Regions from separate parts of the Homo sapiens genome. Here regions 1 and 2 are each linked to region 3. Evidence: promoter capture Hi-C in 16 types of primary human blood cells and fetal thymus (Javierre and others, 2016). All regions are on one chromosome and are shown on one strand. The core of a region is centred on a gene start or on the middle of the fragment in contact, and the rest is flanking DNA. Distances in the headings are between cores, read along the strand shown.

Evidence for each region. Contacts are between HindIII fragments. The CHiCAGO score rates a contact against its expected background, and 5 or more counts as called.
Region 1: a fragment that was not itself captured here is called in contact with the fragment with the promoter of PRDM16 in region 3 in 1 of 17 cell types (megakaryocytes); the score reaches 7.4 in megakaryocytes.
Region 2: a fragment that was not itself captured here is called in contact with the fragment with the promoter of PRDM16 in region 3 in 1 of 17 cell types (megakaryocytes); the score reaches 5.0 in megakaryocytes.

What each region holds. Positions count from the first base shown.
Region 1 is chr1:3,261,320-3,265,727 of GRCh38, forward strand. The region is part of intron 3 of PRDM16 (PR/SET domain 16); the gene reads left to right. Among named protein-coding and RNA genes, the nearest start is that of MIR4251, 140 kb to the left of the region's middle. The HindIII fragment of the contact is 2,046 bases long and covers 682-2,727 here.
Region 2 is chr1:3,244,811-3,249,508 of GRCh38, forward strand. All of the region lies in intron 3 of PRDM16 (PR/SET domain 16), which reads left to right. Among named protein-coding and RNA genes, the nearest start is that of MIR4251, 120 kb to the left of the region's middle. The HindIII fragment of the contact is 4,092 bases long and covers 1-3,708 here.
Region 3 is chr1:3,066,499-3,071,615 of GRCh38, forward strand. It overlaps PRDM16 (PR/SET domain 16), which reads left to right and starts at 2,705. Exons shown (of 17, transcript NM_022114.4): 1 at 2,705-2,798. The coding sequence starts at 2,762. It overlaps LOC124903827 (translation initiation factor IF-2), which reads right to left. Exons shown (of 5, transcript XM_047436614.1): 1 at 3,716-5,117; 2 at 1,724-2,473; 3 at 839-1,550. The coding sequence ends at 2,450. It overlaps PRDM16-DT (PRDM16 divergent transcript), which reads right to left and starts at 1,227. Exons shown (of 6, transcript NR_015440.1): 1 at 839-1,227. It also overlaps the pseudogene LOC100420339. RefSeq lists an enhancer at 1,024-1,598. The HindIII fragment of the contact is 3,548 bases long and covers 2,168-5,117 here.

The sequences.
Region 1 (4,408 bases), core at 455-2,954, 190 kb after region 3:
GGTCAAAATATTTTTGCATTTCAAACACTTGAGTTCCTTTGTCCTTGGGGCGAGATGACTTGGTTTCCATGCAGCCTCACAATGCATGGAAACATCTTTTAGCTGCCAGACGGGGCTTCTGATAAGCCGCCAATTCATAGTGTGGGTTTGGAGAGCTGGAGACGGGGTGAGAAAGCTGAGGCCTTTGCAAAGTCTATTTACACAGTGGCGAGAGTCCCTTTCACCCTCTCCGGCAAACAGGCCCTGGAGCACAGGCATTGAACCCAGGGGGCCGGGTAGATGACCTGTACACACGGCATTGCCCACCAGCCCACGCACACACCAGACCCACCTAACTGGGTTCCTGGGGGAGACCTGCCCAGATACCCCTGGAGCCAGACCCCCAGGGACCTCCTCCACTCCTCCTGTGTCAGGGCAGCCTGCCTCCTGAAAGAACTGGCGTTCAGCCTGCCCCGCCCTCCGTCCTGGTCCCCACCCTCCATCCTGGCTCCGTTCAGAAACGTGCCCCAGGGACCAGGTTTGCTCAGTTGACAGGTTGTCTGGCCTGCAGCCTGTGCAGCTCCTGGTCCCATGGGCCATGAGGCAATAGGAAGAGAAAGGAAAGAGCTGTCATCCTACCCCCCACCCTGTCTCCTTTCCTTTTCTAAGCCACCTGCTCTGCTGCCCTTGGAGCTGAATGGAAGCTTCCAGTACAGGTACTTTCAGAGGGAAGGACTGAAAAATCAGTCGGCTTGTTTATTTGACTAATGCGCCCTCAGGCACTTGTGCTTTTAGCAAGTAGTACCCATTCTACAGGTGAAGAAATTGGGCACAGAGAGGTTCGGTAATCTGCCGAAGATCACACAGCAGTGAGGGGCATTGAACCCAGGTGCTCTGGCTCTGTGTGCTAAGCACAGACATGAGGCTCCTGTTTGATCCATTAACGTGCATTTGTGACCCAGTTGCGTCCCTGGACTCTGAAGACCAAGGGCTCCCTCCTTCCCCCAGGGACTCCACATTATTCTGGTAACATGGGAATCTGAGGGACAGCCCCACACTTGTGAGTCACCAGGAGTCCATCTGAAGGCAAAGCCAGCCAGCGGGAAAAATTCAACCAGACCGAGCAGGAGTCTTGCCCTGGGGCCCCCAAGGAACCGGCTTCATTCAAGAGCCTGGGATCCACAGTGTCACCCTTGGCGGGAGGCGTGGTTGGCCAGAGCCCCTCCCTCTGTGTCCCCCATCTCCTCCTGGTTGCAGGCTATTCCTGGCCACTCCTCTCCTCAAAACCAGATGATGAAGTTGGAGGGATGGGGTCCTTGCTGAGGGGTTTTGGGGAAGGGGTGCAGCTTGAAAAGAACCCACAGAGAAAAATCCCACAGGACACACATGTGCTCTTTAGTGGGGGAGGCAGTTCAGTGACGATGACAGCAGTAATGACAACACACAGAAAACATGAGGGTGTGCGAGCATGGGGTCCCAGGGACGACACCTGCGGGGTGCTGCCACGATGGTGCTGGGAGGTGCGGGGTGCAGTAATGACAACACACAGACAACACGAGGGTGTGCGCGCATGGGGTCCCAGGGAGGACACCTGCGGTGTGCTGCCGCGACGGTGCTGGGAGGTGCAGGTGACAGCCAAGCACTGGATCCTTGAGAGTGAGTGATTGTGCCTCCGGCAGGGCCATAGAGAGGGTCTGTTTCAGATGGAGGTGCCCCGGCGGATGAGGCATCGCAGGGGCACCAGCTCCTCTGGGCATGCAGCCTCTGGTTGGTGATGGCTCAGTGTGTACCCCAGGGGCTCCACAGACCCTGCAGCCTGCCTGGCGGCCCCTCCCACCCCGCACGGGTCTCAGGCACCAGCAGCCTCTTCCATTTCTGTCCTCAGTTGCTCTGAGTGCCCGGGGATGGGAAAGCCTGGCCTGAGAACACGGTGAGCTGAGGCTGAGGGCCGGGACACTGTGTCTAAGGCTCTCCCCGCCCCGCCCGGCTTTGTCAAAGGCCTCACCCCCAGGTGCAGAAATATGAGGGGTAGACCAGAATTCTGGGGCCATCCCAAGTAGACAGAGCGTGCCGCTCTCCCGTGGGGCCCCCCGCAGGCCTGCTCTAGATGAGACCACCTGTTGGTGGTGGGAACCCTGGGGGGCCTAACCCTGTCTAGTGGTCCCTGGGCATCTGTCCTGGTGGCCACTCACTGGGATCGCACTCACAGAGATCCCAGAAGAGCCCAGCCTGAATGCAGCCAACAGTGGCACAGGCTGCCAGAGTCCCTGAGCTCTTCCATCCCATGGGGAACTTTCCCCAAGGCACACGGCCCATATGTCCGGGCCACAGCTCTCTGCTGGCTCCTGCCCATGCTGCCCTGCAGATGCCAGACCTGACTGGGCTCCTCCAGGCCCTCACAGCCCTGACCACAACTCCAGGGAGGCTGCCTGGACGGCAAGATGGATACCAAAGGAGGTGTCTCATCTAATAGTTGGAACGTGAAGCCAGGAGAAGCCTTTGCCACCCATTAGAAAAGCGACCCCTGGGCAGGTGGCGCAGGTGGGGGTATGGCGGCACCATTCACTCACTCCTTTGTTTCTGTGGTTGCTGGGTCCTTCCTTCAGTCGACGCCTCTTGGAGCCTCCTGTACGGGCACTCGCCCTCTCTGTGACCCCCACTTCATCCGAGGGTTCCAGGGCTCAGGGAGGGGCAGGACTTTGCCCAAAGCTACTGTGCAGCTGAGCAGACTCCTGGCCATCTTCCACAAGCTTAGGGAGCATAGGTTTCCAAGGCCAAGGCTGTGAACAGTCAGGCCCTTCCCCAGAGCCCACCATCCCCTGGAAGAAGCGAATAAAAAGCAGAGAAATAGCAATGACACGAGCAGTTACAATAACAGGTGCTATGGAGTCCGAAAATGGGGCGCTGTGTGACCTGGGGCCTCTCTGCGGAGGGGCCTTAAGGGAGTCCATGAGGCTGAGCCGGAGCAGGATATGGAGCAGAGCTGAGCCTTCCAGGTGGAGGGAGCAGCATATCCAAGGACCCCGGGCCAGAAGGGAGGCAGGGGAGGGGTGTGGAGGGGCATCCGAGGACCCTGGGCCAGGAGGGGAGGAAAGGGGAGAGGCATAGAGGAGCATCCGAGGACCCTAGGCCAGGAGGAGAGGAAAGGGGAGAGGCATAGAGGAGCATCCGAGGACCCTAGGCCAGGAGGAGAGGAAAGGGGAGAGGCGCAGAGGGGCATCTGAGAACCCCGGGCCAGGAGGGAGGCAGGGGAGGGGCATGGAGGGACATCTGAGGACCCCGGGCCAGGAGGAGCGGAAAGGGGAGGGGTGTAGATGGGCACCCGAGGACCCCGGGCCAGGAGGGGAGGAAAGGGGAGGGGCGTGGAGGGGCATCTGAGGACCCCAGGCCAGGAGGGAGGCAGGGGAGGGGCGTGGAGGGGGCTTGCAGGTCCCATGTGCGTGAGTCCCTGGGGTGCTGACAGGAGGGGGCTGCAGACAGCCAAGGGCAGAGGGGCTTGGACAAGGATGGAACAGAAGATAACAAACAGACATATTTGGGACATCTCAGAAGGAGAAGGATCAGGCTATGGAAATAGGGTCCAAGGACAGTGGGGATGGGCTCATTGGCAGGGATGGGAAGCCCAGAAGCCCAGGGCAAGGGACTGGGCAGTGGAGATGGAAATGGAGGCGGTGGATATCAGAGGAGGGGTCAAGCAGACAGATGCAGATTTCTGAGCACAGAGAAACCTGAGCTGAGCCACTGAGTCCCCCAGCCTCTCTCTGACCCAGGGCCCAGGAGGGAGGGGAGACCAGCAGGGAGGCGGGAGGCAGCCCTGGAATCCCTGGTGCCACCTATTGAGGCCGAGGCGAGCGGGCTGTTAGGACTGGGACTGAGGGTGGTGGACAGGGATGAGACAGGAGCAGGGCTCTGGGTCCGGAGAAATTGCAACCATGGCTTGACAACAGCTTGTCCCTTACGGTTGGGACAGAAGCCTCAGGGTGCAGGGGGAGCGGACAGGAATGCAGGTGTGGGTGGGAAGGGGCTGAAAACGGACAGGAGCTAGAGGGCTAAGCTGCTAGGCACAGCTCATGGGGAGGCCTGACGGGCCTGAGACTGATGATGTGAAGGGCCTAGTAGGGGCTGAGGTCCTGTCCCAGTAGGGGGTTGGGGAGGGACTTGGAGGCTTCCCGGTGGGAAGGTGAGTTGCCCTGCCTGCTTTTCGCTGCCAGGAGAAGGCAGATGCAGGGATGTGTGACTCAAGGGACCCATCCGAGGTTCATGGGAAGAGGAGAAGGGGTCGTCCTGGTGGGAGAGGGAGAAGCAGACCGCAGAGGCCCCTCTTGGGTCTGGGAGCTCCTAAAATTGCAGCCAAGGCCAGCCCTCTTGCCCCGGGGCTGCCTGGGTTTGTCCTGGGAAGGTGAGGATGGGAGCTGACTGTGGTTAATCA
Region 2 (4,698 bases), core at 413-2,912, 180 kb after region 3:
GGAAAGCAGCTCCGAAACCTAGAACCTGTTCAGCAGCCAGAACTCCTCTTCGACGGGATATGCATTGCCTGCACGCACACACAGACGTCCACAGACACAGCACGCTCACACGTGGTGGCTGATCTCCTATTTTTTGGGGGGGGGTTTCTAGTAAAATTAAAGTAACAGTCTCTCGCTTGGCATCTTTGCTTTAAAGCAAGATAAAATTTAGAGAGAGTCACATTTACACATCCCCACCCAGACAGCATCGCAGGGGGCGGGGTGGGGCGGGGTGCACCATGGGGGTTGCTGGCACAGAGGAGCCAGTGCTGAGTCAGTGCCTACCGAGTGCTGTTACAATTCTGTCAGAATTACAACTGGATTCCGTGACGCAGCATATGGGCTTGAGGGGTACTGGCAGCCTTGTGGTTAGGAAGCTGAGCTGAGTGTTCAAGTCATCAATACTCCATTTTTCCCCCAAAGTCAAAGGAAAGTGCTGTGCTAGTCCTGCCAAACTCCCAGTCTCTGAGCCGAGGCATTTGGGCAGAGCTGCCTACGAGGGACAGGGGACCCACCATCTGGGCAGAGCTATCCGCAAAGCACAGGGGGACCTGACCCTTCTCTCCAGGTTCAACCCCAGATACATTGATTTTGGAGAAAGCATGGCAATGGAGACTTTTGCTGGGCCCGCAGTGACCCGCTGAAGGGCCTCCGGAAACTGGGTGAACTGGTTCCCGTGTCCCTCCCCGTCGCTGGTGTGGCTGTGTCTGGCCTCCTGGGGTCCTTTTGTCCAAGGACAAGGTGTCGGCTCTCAGTCCCCGCCGTCCACAGGATGCCTGAGGTCTTCCTGCACCCACGTTTGACTGGAGCAAATGGAGCAAATTCCAGGGCTGGTCTTTTCCACTTTCCCTCTTTCTCCTTTCCTGCCTCTTTAAATGAGTTCACATTTTCTTAAAGGACATAGAGGAGCAGGAAACAGTTAGCAGCGCTGCTGTATTTCCGAGAACTGCAGTATTTTCACTTCCCACAAAAAGTGACCTGCAGTTAGTGCGAATCCCTCAAGTTCTCGAGGGAGCCTGAAATCACTGGGTTTTCCACCCCGATGCGTCCCTGGACCGTCTGACATTTTCAAGACGCCCTCCTTGGCTGCGCCTCTCCTGAATGCCTCATGGAGGTGGCCTGGCAGGAGGTTAGAAGGGGATCAGTTTATGCTGGGAGGGGTTGCTTGGTCTAGGAACAGGGGTCAAGTCAGAAGGTCAAAAGGTCAAGTCTAGATTTAAAGGGCCCGGGGGAGGCAAGTGCTGGCTGCTTCTGAACCAGAACGAACTAGGACAGAAGGAGGGTGAAGTGGGCGCCGCCTTCTGTGCCTCTGGGCCACGGTGGGTTTGCCTTTGTGTCTTATATGTGTGGCCATTAGGTCTCGCTCAGTGTGGCCCAAGGTCATTCTTGAGAGCGGCTCCCGGGGTGGGCATGAGATGCTGTCCAGCCAGGGGCCTACTTCCAAGTGCCCAGGGCAGCAGGCATCCCTCTGACGCAGGCCCTTGGAAAGCAGGTTGAGAACCTTGGGTCGGGCTGAGGAGTCTCAGGTTCCGCCATCCCACGGAATCAGAGCAGACCCGATGCACGAGACCCCCCACGGCACCGCCGCGACTGCAGGGAGCTCAGCGCAGGGTACCAGAGCCAGCATCGGGGGCGTTGGTGGGCGGTCCTGTCCAAGCAGGCCTCCTGACCCCAGCCCAGGGCTCCTCCCTGCCGCTGCCCTGCAGGCCCAGTCCGAGGGGCTGGGGGCTGCCTGGAGGAGGCACCCAAGTCCTCAGGCACAGCTCCACCAGAGGGGGAGGCTGCCACACAGCACTGCCTGGGCCATCAACTCATAGTTTTTTCAGCCTCCGCAATAAACACCGTCAGCGTCTGGAGGATTCGAGTGTTTGCCAAGGCCATGCTGGTGGGAGAATCAGATCCCTAACCCCAGGGCTCAGACTGGACCCGTTCAGTTACATTTCTAGGCACTCTCGGGGAGCCGGGGGGGTTGGGGCTGAGAGACTGAGAGACATGAGCTAAAATTCAAAGGCAAAGTCTTCAGACTCGGGGGCCAGGAAGACCAGGACAGACAGCCCTCGAGTGGGCGTCAGTCCAGACGGAGACCCCACCCTGCAAACAAATGCGCCACTTAGAGCTGTTGGTATAGGTGCGATGTGTGGATTGCTGCCGTAACTGTGCGCACCGCGGTGCTGTTTTCAGGATGAATTCAGTACAGTCCTTCCTTATAGGATGAGAACTCTGGTTTAGGGGTTTTGTAGTTTGGGTCACCCAAAGGCACACTTGGGAACATTAAAAACCTCATAGGGGAACATGACGGGGGTGGCTGTGTGACCTGTGGGTGGGCAACTCCTGTGTCTGGCTTCAGTTCATCCACCTCTGGGAGGATTACACTTCCTGTTCTTTATCTGCCTCAGTGAAATGTGACGAAGTTAATTAATTCAATCAGCAGCTTGGCATATGAGCTGCAGAAAAGGTGGTATTTTGTGAGGAAGCCACGGTTAGGAATTCTAAGTATCAGAGAGTGAGGTTTCTGAAGAGGCTGGATGCAGGATGACTCTACTCAGAATTTACAGGCGAGGGCGGCCGGGCCGAGGGTTGTATGGAGGCCTGGGATTCGAACTCAGGACTGTGGCGCGGGGCCTGGCTCCTGTGGGCGCTACAGAGGTGCCTCCCGTTAGCCCCGCCCCCACCCCAGGAGGGCGGAGCCACCGCCAGGCGCAGGGGACGGTCCTCCTCCGTCCTTCCTGCGCCCCTTCAGCTTCGCCCTGGACTCCCGCGTTCCCTCTGTCTCACACCCTGGTCTCTGCGCCTTCGTTCACTCCGCAGCCCTTGCGCCCGCGCAGCCCAGAGCTTTGGCGCTGGCCCGCGCTCGCTCTGGTGCGCTCGCCCTGGTGCCCTATGCGTGCCCTCGCCGTCCCTGCGCCCGTCCTGGTGCGCCCTGGGCGCGCGTCACCGGCGCTTCCCAAAAAGTCACATTGGCTGTGGGTCGGGCTGCGTCGCGCCTTTCCTGGCCGCGGTGCGGGGACCTCTGGGACCGCTCCCTCCAGCGGACTCTCTATTTAGTCTCTGTTTACTTAGAGGGAAAGCCCGGGGGCTCCTGGAGAGCAAACATCTGCGGGAGATAATCTAGCGAGTTGTCCATCCATCACTCCGGGCGCGCAGCTCCCTGGAGAGCCCGCCGGAGCCGGTAATAAAAAGGCCGGGCGAAGAGGCTTTGGGGACGAATCAAGAGCCGTGTTAAGGGCTCGCTGAAAATGGATGGAAGACATTATTAAGGCTCAATGGCCATCTTATCAAAATCCAATAGGATAGACATTTGGCAAAAGGCTTAAATTTATTCTTTGACTTTCTGGAGGGCTTGAATTTATCCGTTAACAAGAGTGTAGTCCACCCGGGAGATGCTATCAGCTGAAAGAATTTTGATTCAATCTCTGGCGATATGAAAGGGGAAACATGGCCCGGCAGCCTTTCCCTTTGTCCACTTTATCGTGTTTTCCTTCCCCCTCTTGAAAAGGAAGGACGTGTTAATACAGAACGGGAAAACACAAACAAAAGGAAGTGACCTTTTCTCTTATTTTTATTTTCTCTTCCCCTCCGCTTCTCTATCCCCCTCCTCCCAAAAATAAATACATCGTGAATTCGCATGGGAGGGCTAGGCCTGGGGACCTGGAAAAAAAACCCTTCAGAAGCTTCGGAAAAAACGCATCCACCCCAGCCAGCCCCTAGGGCGAGGGGCGGGAGTGCAGAGGCTTAGAGGAGGGTCAAAAATAAATCGAGCTAATAAAGTCATTCCGCCGGAAGAGGGGCCGGTGATGGGTCCATAAATCTCTCCCGGTTATTATTATTACGTACAAAATGCTACAGGTCATAAAAGTCGTCTGATAGCCCAGCCTTGCATTGTCCAAACAGGGTGATTGATTGATAATGACGATAATTTGTGAAATGATTATTTGGATGTTAGAACCATGGCCTGTCCCACTGGGCTGTTCTGTGGGCGTTTTCTATAGCCCGGCCCGGGCAAAATGCCTCTGGTAACGAGGAGTCCAGAGGTTTCCTGGGTCCCTCCCGTGGGGACTGGGGGCTAATGAAGGATGGCTGCTGAGCCCAGGAAGTTGGGAGCGAGACAGACAGGCAACTGCTAAGTGTCTTTTGTGCAGCAGTTACTGGAGGAGGCCACACACCCTGAGGTCTAAACGCAGCTGGGACCTCGCTGGGACTCCAGGCAGTTTGTGAGCAGGATATACCGAGTTCCTGGCCATGCCAGGCTTTTAGCCCAGCACAGCACCACGCAGCCGGAGACTGCTGTTCGGTGTCCAGTCCTGTGGCTCACTGTGTTCTGTTTGTATTGTTTTCCTCCTAAAGGAGGCTGGAGGGCTGGGGAGGAAGGGAGTAGGGGGCAGGGGTAGGGAGGGGAGGGGATGTGGTTGGAGAGATGGAGGGACCCTCAAACACAGAGCTGCAGAAGGAGGCGCTGCTATGCATGCATCGGGCTCAGCTGGTGGGTATGGGAACTAGAAGGCTCTCTGGGATGTACTGGATCTAGAAGGCTTTCTGCGGCCTCCCTAAGCTTGGTTTTGCTGAGGCCTGTGCCAGCGAGGTGAGTGAGGTTCAGACCGCCTTTTCCCGTTCCCTTACCAGCCAGCCAGCAACACAGATCCCGCCGGAGTGCCGTCACTA
Region 3 (5,117 bases), core at 1,455-3,954:
CTCCCTGGCGAGGCTTGACCGGCAGCTACCCCTTCCCAGGCAGATCCATGACCCCATCCCTACCCAACAGCCTGGTGGAGGGCAAGGACCAGATGGCACAGACCAGCTTGCTCCCATACCTCCTGCCCTTCTTCCCTAGGGGCTGGCAACAGGCCAGGGATGGCTGTCCTGTCCTAGCCTGGCCAGGGTTCTGAGAACCACCTCCTGAGCTGGAGGAGGAGGCAGGGAGAGGGCCTGAGAGAGTTGGGGCACCCGTAGAAGAAGGCCAGGACTGCACAACCTTGGCATCTGTTGGCTACCTCCAGGCCAGGGGCAAAGGAGGCCTCTGCTGGGCTGCAGGGTGAGGGTGGGGAAGGGACCCTCTCTGCAGGTGGGAGTGGTTCGCAGGCACCATAGTAACTTCCCCAGGCCTCCTCCCAAACCTGCAGAGGCTTCAGGCAGGAGCAAGGGGGACCTGGGTGCAGAGATATGGGAGTGACCTTGAGTCCTTTCTAGCCAGCAGCTCCAGCCAGGTTGGGCCCACCGTTGGGAACCTGCCCTTGGCGGGGTTTAGGCAAGACAGCGCCCGTGTTCCTGGGCTCCAGCACCTCCCACCCACTGGGGCGAGCAGGTTCAGAACCGGCCTTGGCGGTGCAAAGCTGCAGCGGTGCCCTAGTTGGCTAGGCAGATCAAGACCTCCAGAGCCGGGCCTGTAAACTGAGCTGTTCTCTGCCCCAACCCCTGTAGAAAGATGGTCAGGGTGTGGGGAGGGTGGGTAAAGGGGTCGATAGACCCTCGAAAGGACGGCAGGGAATGGGGCTGTGCCATTGCTCATGGCCCTTCTCTAGGCGACACTCACCTGGTGCCAGAAACAGCAGAGGTAGCGGCCAGTGAGCGCTTCCTCCATCCGGGGCTCGGGCGGCGAGCTGGCTGCAAGACTGGGCACCCTGGAGCCGTGGGAGCCTTGGGAGCCGAATCTGGGTTCGAATCTGAGCAGGGAAGCGGTGCCGACCGCGGAGGATCCAAGGCAGAAGGCCCAGCGCACCGCCGCCGCCAGCTCCTGCCCAACCCGGCTCCGCTGGGCTTTTCCTCTGGGGTGGCGCCGGCCCCGCGCCCCTCCCCATCCGGGGCGCCTCTGCTAGGACACCGGGGTCTCGGGGTTTCTCAGGGCTGCTGCGTTTCACCTCCTTTAACGCGGAGGCGCGGAGTTGCACGTGTGGGTCTCAGTGGAGCCGCCACAGGTCTTATTACACAACAAAGGGCAGGGAGGGCAAGGCCAGGAGCCTCGCGGGGCGGCGCAGAGACCCCGCATCGCGGGCGCGACCCCTGCCTCGGGCTCAGGCTGACTCTGCGGCAGCTCCAAGTCCCGTTGCCGGGCAGGACTTCGGTGCTCCGGAAGGGTGCGGGGCAGCAACCTGGCCAGGGCAGCGCCTCGGTTTCCTTCCAATTCATTCTCGATTCCCAGATACTCAGATGAGAAATCCGCACTCAGGCCGTCAGGCTCCTGGGCCCGGGCCACCCTGCCTGCGCTCAGCCCGGCCCCTCCGCCGCAGCGCCTCGGAGTTTGGGGGCTACAGGGGAAGAGGAAGCGTCTGGTCGGCTCCCGTCCGAGCTGCTCCACCTGCGCCGCTGGCCTTTCCGCCCGCTACGCACCTGGGCCCCGAGAGGCCAGAGGGGAGTGTCCCCAGTGGCCCGGGTCCCCGAAGGTGGCCCAGCTCGGGCGCTCGCGCAGCCGGGTACTCACCTTGGGGGCGCGGCGGCAGGAGAGCGCGGGCGGAGAGGTGCGGGCGCCCTGGGACGACCAGCCGAGGACGCCTGGTGTTTGGACGGCTGCCCCCGCGCTGTCCCCCCGTGCGAGGCGTGTTGGCCTCCGTGGCCTCGCGAGGGACCGAGGGCGGCGGGTCCGAGTGCCGCCCGCCGGCCTGGGCAGTGGCGGAGCGCGGAGCTGGCGGCGCCTCCGCTGTTGTTTTTGAGCCGCGAAGCCCGAAGCAGCAGCCGTTGGGTGGGGGCGAAGGGGAGGAGGCGGGGGCCGGGAGGCGCGAGGGGGGCGGTGGGGCCCGGAGGGGGCTTCGGAGGAGCCGGGTTCTGGCGCGCGAGCCCCGACGCCCCCTCCAGCGATCGCAGGGCGGGGACGGGGGCCGAGGGGAGAATGCAGGAGAAAAGCGGGCCGGGGCGACGGGGAACGCAAAGCTTTTAAATTAGTAATCAAACGCAGTAAAACGGAGCAAAACCAGCCCGGACTCGCGTCCGAACTATCGGCGCGTGTGCCCCGAGATCCAAGGAAGTCGTGTGGAAAACCGCAGCCGCCGCCCCATCTTCGGCCCCGGCTGGGGCGGGAGCAGCAGCGCGACGCGCCGCGACGCAGGGGCAGGGTGGGGGGATAGTCACCTCGCCTCCGGGGCCACCTGGGTCCTTTTAAAGTGTCCGGGGTGCGGGCCCCGGGCGGGAGCGCCGAACACGGAATGTTTTCTTAAAGGGCCAGTTCCGAGCTGCGCTGAAAAGGGGGGGGGGGAGAGGGGGGAGAGATAAGTGAGACGAAGACCGAGAAGGCCGAGGAGAGCCCCCCAATCCCGCGCCGAGGCGGCGGCGGCGGCGGCGGCGGCGCGACGATGAGGATGATGAATACATTGCAAAGTTTTTTTGGCCCCGGCGAGGGGTGTCAGATTGAGTGCTCTGTGCGCATGTGCGAAGGTGTCCAAACTGACAATGCTGGGGAGATGAAGATAGTGTGTGGCTGCTTCTGGACTCAAGGAGGAGGAGAGAGATTCCGCGAGCCGACACCATGCGATCCAAGGCGAGGGCGAGGAAGCTAGCCAAAAGTAAGTCTCCCGCGCTCGGCCGCGCCGCGCCGCCGGGGCCCGGGCCGCCGGGCCGGGGCGCCCGGGCCAGGGGTGCGCGTCGGGGCGCGGCCGGCGCGCCTGCGGCTCCGGGCCCCCGGCTCGGCCGCGCGGCCCGGGGGGCTGCTCCGCCTCCCGCGCTCCGGGGCGACCGGGCTCGGCGCGGAGGCTCGGGGCGCCCGGGCCGCGCGCTCCCCGAAGGCGCCGGCCCCCTCCCCGCGGAACCCCCTCCCCCCCCACCAGTGTCAGGCGCTCGGGCCCGGGAACCCGAGGCGCGCGGTGGGGGCCGGGGAGGGGGGCGGAGGGGGAGGGCCGGGGGTGGAGGGGAGCGAAAAGTGAAAGTTAGCGAAAAGTTGACGAAAGGGGAGAGCAACTTTTTCCTCCCCGCTCGCTCTCTCCCTCTCTCTCTCCGAGTGGCTCTCAGTCCTGGTCAAATCATATTCCGGGCTTTTGAAATAGTGGGCGCTAGAGCACCGCCTTTGGCGTCCGCCAGCCGGGCGCAGAGGAGGGAGACCCCGAGCCGGGGAGGGGCGGAGGAGGGGGCGCGGGCCGGCGCCCACCCGGCTCCGCGGGCGCAGGGGCAGGGGTGGCGACGGCGGGACAGCCGCAGCCACTTGGGGAGCAAAATGGAGACTTTTGCCCGGGCTGGGAACTGTGGTCGTGAAGTTTATCCCCGGCTGTGCCCCGCGTGGTGGAGGGCGCTCCTCTGGGACGCCGGCAGCCTGCGCGGGCCGCCGGGGCGACAGTGCCTCCGACAGGAGGGACCCACCCGGCCACCTCCCGACCCGCCGCTGCCGCCCTCGGGCCCGCGTGGACCCCTCTGTACCCGCTTGCCTGGCACAGCCGGGCCCGGCGGGGACAGAGCTGCCCCGGCCAGGCTGCCCGGTCCTCGGTCTTACTTTCTCTTTCGCTCCGTCTCGGCCGAGCCCCGGGCTCCGCGCGCCCCGCCTGCCGCCAGCCGGTCCTTGCCGCGGGCCGGGTGCTCCAGCCACCCGCGCCCTCGCCCGCCACAGCGCCTCCGAGCAGCCCGCGCGCACCCCGCAGCCCCGGTCGCCGGCGCCATCCGCGGTGAGGCGGGCGGGCAGGTGAGGACAGGCGGAGCCGCGGCCCGGCCAGCGCGGCTCCCGCAGCCCCGCCGAAGCCCCGGCTGCAGCGAAGCGGCCAGCGCCGCGCGGAGCGGAATCGGCGCCGCCTGCTCCCGCCGCCCCCTCCTCTGCAGGCCGCCCGCCCGCCCACCCGCAGAAGAGGCGCCCGGGCCGCTCCCCTCGAGGTCCCCGCCCGACCCACGCCGTTCCGTCCGCGCCTCCGGGGCCGGGTCCCTCCAGGCCGGCCTCGCAGCTCCCGGGGCCGAGCCCCCAAACGTGAGCCGGGTGCGCGCGGGACTCGCGGCGGTTTTCCGAAGCTCCGCTCCCTCGGCTCGGGGCCCGCCCGGCTCGTCCCAACAGCTGCCCCGCGGCCGTAGGCCCCGCGCTCTGTGCACCAGGGAAAAGCAGCTCCCGAGTTTGTGCCGGACGCTCCTGCGCCCCGCCATCGGCCGTTCCCGGCCCCTGGGTGAGGCGCCCCCTTCCCGCCGCGCTCCGCTGCCGGGTGCCCTCGGCCTCGGCCTCCCGTGACCTCTGACCCCTCTTGGTGCGAACAAGACCGGGCGTTTCGCCGCCGACGCGAAGGGGCTGTCTGTGCGCGGCGTTGCGGGCCCTCCGCGCGTGGGGTGTGCGTGTGCGTGTTCGGGTTCGGTTCTGTGTGTGCACCGCGGGCCTGCTCAGAGTCGGGACCACCGGGCTGCGTGTGGGCCGCCAGGTCAGGCCCTCGCCCAGGATGGGCCCTAAGCTGGAACGAGAAAGGGGAAACCGGCCGCGCTGACGCCGGGGCCTTCGCTGCAAGCGAGAGGCGGACTCGGCGCACCCGCGCGGCCCTGGAAACTTCCGAGAGGCCCCAGCTCTCCGCCGGCTCCACCTCTGCCAGGTGGGGAAGGTGGCCCGGGACCGGGTCCGCTCAGGACCAGAAGTGGTGCCTGGCAGCCATCTGGCCAGGAGGCCGGAGAGCCGGGCCCAGCGGGAGCGCCGAGCGCTGGCTTCCTTTTCCCGAGAGTCTTTAGTGAGGAAAAACCCCATGAGAGGTGACTGCCAGGCCTCGGCCCTCTGTCCACACTTGGCCGAGCGCTGGGAACCCCTCCTTCCAGGCTCCACAGCTGGGACCGCTTGTCCCAGGCCCCCCAAGGTGGCTGAGGCAGGTTCAGGATCACACTGCCTGCCCTGAGCAAGAAGGCAGGATCCGCTGAAGAATTTCATTTCATCAGGCGAT